Regions from separate parts of the Homo sapiens genome. Here regions 1 and 3 are each linked to region 2. The links are contacts of gene promoters, found by promoter capture Hi-C in human tissues and cell types (Jung and others, 2019). All regions are on one chromosome and are shown on one strand. The core of a region is centred on a gene start or on the middle of the fragment in contact, and the rest is flanking DNA. Distances in the headings are between cores, read along the strand shown. Region 1 has its middle 48 kb from the start of GZMB. Region 2 holds the start of NEDD8 (NEDD8 ubiquitin like modifier). Region 3 has its middle 16 kb from the start of DHRS4-AS1.

The links. Contacts are between HindIII fragments. The study calls those that stand out against the background at their distance.
Region 1: a contact is called between a fragment that was not itself captured here and the fragment with the promoter of NEDD8 in region 2, in 1 of the 25 tissues and cell types used here (spleen).
Region 3: a contact is called between a fragment that was not itself captured here and the fragment with the promoter of NEDD8 in region 2, in 1 of the 25 tissues and cell types used here (spleen).

Annotation. Positions count from the first base shown.
Region 1 is chr14:24,680,665-24,683,364 of GRCh38, forward strand. No RefSeq gene overlaps it. Among named protein-coding and RNA genes, the nearest start is that of GZMB, 48 kb to the left of the region's middle. The HindIII fragment of the contact is 5,312 bases long and covers 1-2,700 here.
Region 2 is chr14:24,230,917-24,233,616 of GRCh38, forward strand. NEDD8 (NEDD8 ubiquitin like modifier) reads right to left here and starts at 1,451. Exons shown (of 4, transcript NM_006156.3): 1 at 1,334-1,451. The coding sequence starts at 1,351. NEDD8-MDP1 (NEDD8-MDP1 readthrough) reads right to left here and starts at 1,451. Exons shown (of 7, transcript NM_001199823.3): 1 at 1,334-1,451. The coding sequence starts at 1,351. GMPR2 (guanosine monophosphate reductase 2) reads left to right here and starts at 2,013. Exons shown (of 10, transcript NM_001002002.3): 1 at 2,013-2,061; 2 at 2,303-2,424; 3 at 2,563-2,682. The coding sequence starts at 2,338. RefSeq lists enhancers at 1,315-2,180, 1,347-1,641. The HindIII fragment of the contact is 8,372 bases long and covers 994-2,700 here.
Region 3 is chr14:23,970,262-23,972,961 of GRCh38, forward strand. It overlaps a transcript of DHRS4L2 not described here. Among named protein-coding and RNA genes, the nearest start is that of DHRS4-AS1, 16 kb to the left of the region's middle. The HindIII fragment of the contact is 4,031 bases long and covers 1-2,700 here.

The sequences.
Region 1 (2,700 bases), core at 156-2,655, 450 kb after region 2:
TCTCCTAACTCAGCCACTCTGCCTTTGTGGCTAAAGGATCTCTTGCCAGCTCTGACTGGCGGAATGGGCAGGGCTACGTGTGAACCCAGAGCAGCCACCACCTCTCTGCAGAAGGGCCAGTGTCAGGGCAGTGTGGACTGATCCCCACTGCTTCTGTGACCTCTGGCACTCAGGGCTCCTGCCTGGTGGGCCTCGACCCTATTCCTTCTGTCTCAGAGGAAATGTAGAAAAATGTAGAACTGCTTCTGCATAGTGCCACTCCTCTGTCTATCCCCAATCTCCTCTTCAACATTGTGAAGCTGGAAATGACGCACATAGGGCACCCTCTTGACTGCTACTCCCCATGCATTTCTGACCCTCATAAGAGAGGCTGGATGGGAAACCACACTGATCCTCCAATACTTCTATGCTCAATAAGCCATCTGTGAGTTGGAAAGGAATTCAGAAATGGGGAAGGGGGCAGGTCGACCTATTTTGCTTTCACAGCAAAGGGTGTGTAGCATCAGGGTGACATTCAGGGCTGATTATTAGGTTGGTGCAAAAGTTATTGTGGTTTTTGCCATTACTTTTGCACCAACCTAAAAAATGTGTCAAATTTTTCTTCCCCAGACAGCTGGCCCTCTGAGTCACAGTGGGAGCAGTATGTAACAGGAGGGGAGAAGAAAATGAAAAAGCCACACAACTGTCTCTTTCTTTGAGCCCTTTTCCAAGCTCTCCTTAAATTTTCAGTTTCTCCTCTTGGTCATTCTCCCCAACAAGTGCTTTGTTTCAGAATTATTAATAACTGGAAAAGTTCTGTTTTTTTTCTCTTTAACTGGCATTTTGCTTATCCTGTGGCTTATTGAGCCCTAGGGAATTTATGCCCTATAAATAAATGACTATTATTATTATGTAGCTGTATTCAGAGCATTAGTTGAAAGGGAGAAGTGACATTTTTCTTTATTTGCTTTAGAAATGTGTTGTAGTCACAATAGCTCTCCTCCTGCCTGGGATTAATGGCATAATTATTCACACCGGGCAACAGAGATGGAATGAGTTTGAACTTGGCATGAATTAATACACCAAAATATGCCTCTTGTTCTTGCTCACTGCCTAATTAATTCTGAATTATGAAATTCTCTGTGAGCTACCCAAAAAGCATGGTCACCGGATTCTGGTGCAATTGTTCTTTCTTTGCACTAAAAATCAAGTGATTTGATAGTTATGGGCTGTTTGGAAAGAGAATGTCCATTTGAATATCCTAGGAAGGAAGGAACAGACCTCATAAGGGATTTTTCTAGAGGTTTTATAGTAAATAACCTGTGTATGATGGACATGCAAGGGCCCCCAGGGGAGACTGAGCTTTGCATGAACCAGCTTTACTGCTAGAGAAATAGAGGACTTAGGAGTACTGTGCCTTGATGTCTAGAATTTACACTATAGAAGGCCATGCCTTTGGATTAGGATATTTTGTTCAGAGGTTCCCAGTTAAATATGAATGAGTTGTCCATGGAGAATAGCACAATCACCTACCAACTCCCAACATAGGGTAAGGAGAACTTGCCACTGCATGACCAACTTTACTCACACTTTGCTAGCTTTTGCCAACACCTCTGCCGGGGATGAAGAATCATGTGAATTATTGGAGCTCAAGACATTGAGTATATGAGCAGTTTCTTATTGTGGCATAAGAAACACAAACACAGCCCCTGCTCCCTTGCTCTCTCTTTCATCCCATGGGGGTATGAAAGTGAATTCAGGACTGATCACTCTCTTCAGTTGCCCTTTCTGCAGTTACCTAGAGAGGATAAAATCCCATTAATTGGATTCAGGACTTGGACAAGAAGGTTGAGCTGTAGGGTCTTAGTCAACCATTATTAGGACTTTGACCTGGAGTTTTGGGGCACTTGTACACCATCAGTACAGGATATTTTAATTCTTATTTGTTTTATTCTTTGTGGGTGCCCCTCCCACAGTCCTCGGAGAACTGAAGGGGAGAGAATAACTGGCATGACAGTATTTTAATATCTTTCTTTGTGTTTTTGGCAATGATATGATCTAACACTATCAATATAAAAATTCTAATGTTAAATATGGTATATTCATTGCTCATCTGAGCATCAATTAGTGCATCCTCTTACCTTGAAATGATGGCTTTCTACTGGATTTCCCCATCCACATGTACACATCCTGTGCTATCTCTCATTTGGAAAACAAAATGAGACAGGAGTCTGTAAACTTCTTCATTCCCTTCAGGTAATTCTTCATGTCTCTGCTTCCCTTTAATGAAAATTTATAAAAAAAAATGTGTATTTTTGTCTTCATTTTTTCAACTTATATTCTATCCAATTCTTGCCAATCTATGTTTCCCACCAATTAATGGAAATCATCTTTGTTAAAGTCATCAATATCCTCCTCCTTGCTAAATTTAGTATCATTTCTGTATCTTTTTCTTTTCCTCAGCAGTGTCTGACACTATGGACTATGCTGTCTTTCATAAAGCACGTTTGTTTGTTTGTTTGTTTTTTTACTGGCCTCTCATCTGGTTCTTTCCTGCTTCCTTCTAACATCTTTGTCCATGGTTTCTCAGTCTGTTTTCCTGGAGTCTCCTCTTCCCAGGCTCAGTCTGTCTCTTTATCTGTGCTTATTCCCTATGTAATCTCATTGAGTTCTATGGCCTTAAATACATTACCCATACACAGATGACTCCTGTGTTAACTA
Region 2 (2,700 bases), core at 201-2,700:
CTTTTTTTTCAGGCAGGGTCTGGAGTGCAGTGGTGCCATCACTGCTCACCGCGGCTTCGACATCCCAGGATCAATCAATCCTCCCATCTCGGCCTCCCGAATAGCTGGGCCTACAGGCATGCGCCCAGACCCTTGGCTAATTTTTTGAATTTATTGTACAGGCAGGGTTTCGCCATGTTGCCCAGGATGGTCTCCAACTCCTGGGCTCAAGCGATCGGCCTGCCTCGGCCTTCCAAAGTGCTGGGATTACAGGCGTGAGCCACCGCGCCCAGCCTATTTTCTCTTTTTAATGGCGCCAGTGACCCATTCACCTATTAAATTGATGTTACGACTCTTATATAGGCCGCTACTCAACGTTAAAAAAAATCATCTTTAACATACTATTTTAATACTAGACCTCAAATCTTAGCTAAGAAGTAGTTTGGAAGGACTGGGGAAGAGAAGGTTAAGAATGACTATTATGTACGGTAAATATGCTAAGAAGCTGATGAAATAACGATAGATTTACTTAGCTACAAAAAGGCCAAACTAGCATTAGACTTCACTTGTCAGCAGTTTTGTTTTTTTGAGGGGGGCGTGGGGGGGGGGGTCTCTGTCTGTCTGAAGGCACAAAAGAGGAAACAGCAGATAGGACTAACGAGGGCTGGAAATTGGTGAAGAACCACCACGGGAGTTGAGAGATGCAGATGAAGGAAACCATGGCTAGTAGCAAGAACTAGGGCAGCGGTAACTAACCTGCCTCAGCCAAGGAAGTGAGGCTGGTCCAGGATGCCAGGCTCAGAAAGGCAGGTACTGACTGAACACACTCCCCGCTTTGGTTCCTGTAGGACGGGTGAGATACCACACCTTGGCAACCACCAGTAAAGGCTCATAGTCTAGCCCTTGGGAGGCCCCGATTTTAGGGCTGTGCTCGGAGGCGACCTACGTTAGGGACTGGGAGAAGCAGGTACCCTGGGAATGAAGAATGGAGAGCAGCGCTTACTCCAAGAATCTGAGAGACGGGGGAGTCAAGCCGCTGCTAGGCCTTCTCTATGACTGCGGGGGTTCGAATACAGTGAGACCCGACAAAAGCGACCCCATTCTGGGTGATAGCACAGTCCTGGCAAAAAAGCAGGCATGGCAAAATACCCCAGGGTCGTCAGGTGGGACCTGGGCCCCGCTCTCAAAGCCCTTCTGGGTCCCCCTATTTCCCACCACCCCTCGCGCGGAGCCCTGAGGCAGTCAGCGTCCTCCAGGCTAGGGAAAGGCGTGGTTTTCCTTCCCCACGTCTCCCGTAAGGCACTGCTGCCAGCCCAGTACTACTGCGTCTTGGCAAGGCTGGAGGTGCTCCCACCTTCACTTTAATTAGCATCTTCTTTCCAGTTTGGGGCTGCACACGGATAAATTGCTGCTCCTACCGCTCCGGTCGCCGCTGCCGCCCTCCAGCACTCTTGCCTGCAAGGGCCACTTCTACTTCCGGGTCACTGTCTGGCTCCACCCCCCCCCCCCCCCCCACTGGGTTCCGGAAAGGCTCAGGGTTGCTCCCGCGTTTCGGTTCAGTGACGTCGTAAATTGGAATGAGGCATCCAGTTTAGCAACAGCAGAGATGACGACTCTGCGATTCTGAGAGTCCCTGGCGAGCCCGGGCTAGCGAAAAGTGGGGGCAGAACGAACTACATCTCCCATCGTGCCAGGAGGCGGTCCCGCCCGTTTCCCCCTGGGAGTTGTAGTCTAACCCCCTCGGATCCAACAGCAACCTCAGTGCGTGAACTCTGTTATCCAGAAGGCCTCGCCCTGCCGCCGCCGAAGCTGGAATTCGTCGGCTAGTAGTTCTCGCCGGCAACTAGAGGAACCTGTTGGCGTGGCCCAGAAGGCTTAGCGGGATTGCACGAGGTTAGTTGCTAAGCAAGGTGGTCTTTGGTCAACTGCCGCCTGGACCAAGGCAACAGGAAGTGAGTACCTCTATTCCGGAAACTAGTTATGAACCCTCCCCGCCCCCCGTCGCCAACATTCCTTCGTTCCCCTAAATCAGCCTCTTGCCCCATTGCTCTTTGCAGGGGTAGAAGAAGGAAGTGTAGCGGGGTAAGGAATGCACCGTCAGGGTCTCTCACAACCCTTTCCCAGCTCTCCTCCCCAACAAACAGTACCTGGGATGGAGCCCTAGGGTAATCGCAGCCACGGGATGGGTCGAGGTGACAGGCTTCAGGGACCACACTTCGGCCTTTGCCCGACCTTCCACAACTTAAGCGAAGAGAGGCCACCAGCCGTAACAGGGCGTTAAAGCCCAGGGGAAGATTGGTCCTTATGACTTCCTGCCTTCCAGCCCTCAGATTCATCGCTACCCCGAGGCTAAGCGCCATGCCTCATATTGACAACGATGTGAAACTGGACTTCAAGGATGTCCTTTTGAGGCCCAAACGCAGTACCCTTAAGTCTCGAAGTGAGGTGAGCAAGCTTCTCTACTTGCTGTTTCTTGACCCCACGCTCCCGGTGGGCCACAACCAAGAAAGATGCCTGTCCTTGTCCTAATATGGTACGTTTTTTGGATTAATGAAATGGTCAATTTCCTGTTCATATCTGCAGGTGGATCTCACAAGATCCTTTTCATTTCGGAACTCAAAGCAGACATACTCTGGGGTTCCCATCATTGCTGCCAATATGGATACTGTGGGCACCTTTGAGATGGCCAAGGTTCTCTGTAAGGTAGGGCTTTCCTCATGC
Region 3 (2,700 bases), core at 201-2,700, 260 kb before region 2:
GGCAGCCCCTGCATCTCAGTCCTGACATCGCTGTCCCTGGAGCATCCTCCGCTGGAGCTGGAGCTTGACAGGTAGGGTGGAGAGGGCGGTGGGGGGCGGGGGGCCGAAACTGCATCAGTTAACGGGGCCGTGGGGGAGGGAAGTCCTCCATTGCTAAGGCTTCAGTAGGCGTTCTATGATCACAGTGTAAACAAAGCTGCAGGGAAGCTCTAACTGGGCGGAACCCACCGCAGCTCAGCAAGGCCTACTGCCTCTCCAGATTCCACCTCAGGGGCCAGGGCATATCTGAACAAAAGGCAGCGGACAGCTTCTGCAGACTTCAGTGTCCTTGCCTGACATCTCTAAAGACAGCAGTGGTTCTCCCAGCACGGAGTTCGTGCTCCGATAACGGACAGACTGCCTCCCCGAGTGGGTCCCTGACCCCCATGTAGCTTGACTGAAAAACACCGACCAGTAGGGGCGGAGAGACACCTCATACAGGTGGGTGCCCCTGTGGAACAAAGCTTCCAGAAGAAGGATCAGGCAGCAATATTTGCTGTTCTGCAGCCTCCTCTACTGATACCCAAGAAAATAAGGTCTGGAATGGACTTCCAGCAAACCCCCAAAGACCTGCAGCTGAGGGGCCTGTTAGAAGGAAAACTAACAAACAGAAAGGAATAGCATCAACATCAGCAAAGGACAGCATCAACATCAGAATAGCAAAGGACATCCACACTAAAACCCCATCCATAGGTCACCAACATCAAAGACCAAAGGTAGATAAAACCACAAAGATGGAGAGAAACCAGAGCAGAAATGCTGAAACTTCCAGAAACCAGAACGTCTCTTCTCTTCCAAAGGAATACAAGTCCTCACCAGCAAGGGAACAAAACTGGATGGAGAATAAGTTTGATAACTTGACAGAAGTTAAGCTTCAGAAGGTCAGTAATAACAAACTACTCCCAGCTAAAGGAACATGTTCTAACCCATTACAAGGAAGCTAAAAACCTTCAAAAAAAGGTTAAACGAATGGCTAACTAGAATGAAGAATGTAGAGAAGAGCTTAAATGACCTGATGGAGCTGATAACCACAGTACAAGAACTTCATGAAGGATACACAAGCTTCAATAGCTGATTCAATCAAGTGGAAGAAAGGATATCAGTGATTGAAGATAAAATTAATGAAATAAAGTGAGAAGACAAGATTAGAGACAAAAAAATAAAAAAGAAACATTCAAATTCAGGAAATACAGAGAACATCACAAAGATACTCCTTGAGAAGAGCAACCCCAAGACACATAATTGTCAGACTCAGCAAGGTTAAGGGCAGCCAGAGAGAAAGGTTGGGTGACCAACAAAGGGAAGCCCATCAGACTAACAGCAGATCTCTCAGCAGAAACCATACAAACCAGAAAAGAGTTGGGACCAATATTCAACATTCTGAAAGAAAAGATTTTTGAAACTAGAATTTCATATCCAGCCAAACTAAGCTTCGTATGTGAATGAGAAATAAAATCCTTTGCAGACAAGGAGATGCTGAGAGATTTTGTCACCACCAGGCCTGCCTTACAATAAGAGCTCCTGAAGGAAGCACTAAACATGGAAAGGAACAACGGGTACCAGCCACTGCAAAAACATACGAAATTGTAAAGACCATTGATGCTATGAAGAAACTGCATCAATTAATGGGCAAAATAACCAGCTAACGTCATGACAGGATCAAATTCACATATAACAATACTAACCTTCAATGTAAATGGGATAAATGCCCCAATTAAAAGACACAGACTGGCAAATTGGATAAAGAATCAAGACCCATATGGTGTGCTGTATTCAGGAGACCCATCTCACATGCAAAGACACACATAGGCCCAAAATGAAGGTATGTCTGGAATTGGTGGGTTCTTGGTCTCACTGACTTCAAGAATGAAGCTGCGGACCCTCGCGGTGAGTGTTACAGTTCTTAAAGGCAGCGTGTCTGGAGTTTGTTCCTTCTGATGTTCAGACATGTTCAGAGTTTCTTCCTTCTGGTGGGTTCGTGGTCTTGCTGGCTTCAGGAGTGAAGCTGCGGACCTTCGCAGTGAGTGTTACAGCTCTTAAGGCAGCATGTCTGGAGTTGTTCGTTCCTCCTGTCTGGAGTTGTTCATTCCTCCTGGTGGGTTCGTGGCCTCACTGGCCTCAGGAGTGAAGCTGCAGACCTTCACGGTGAGTGTTACAGCTCATAAAGGCAGTGTGGACCCAAAGAGTGAGCAGCAGCAAGATTTATTGCAAAGAGTGAAAGAACAAAGCTTCCACAGTGTGGAAGGGGACCCAAGCGGGTTGCTACTGCTTGAAGGGGTGGCTTGCCCCTCCACACCTGTGGGTATTTCTAGTCAGGTGGGACAAGAGACTGAGAAAGAGAAATAAGACACAGAGACAAAGTATAGAGAAACAACAGTGAGTCCAGGGGACCGGCGCTCAGCATACCAAGGACCTGCACCGGCACCGGTCTCTGAATTCCCTCAGTTTTTATTGATTATTATCGTCATTATTTCAGTAAAAAGGAATGTAGTAGGAGGGCAGGGTGATAATAAGGAGAAGGTCAGCAACAAACGTGAGCAATAGAATCTACATCATAATTCAGTTCAAGGGAAGGTACTATGACTGGACGTGCACGTAAGCCAGATTTATGTTTCTCTCCACCCAAACATGTCGGTGGAGTAAAGAATAACAAGGCAGCAT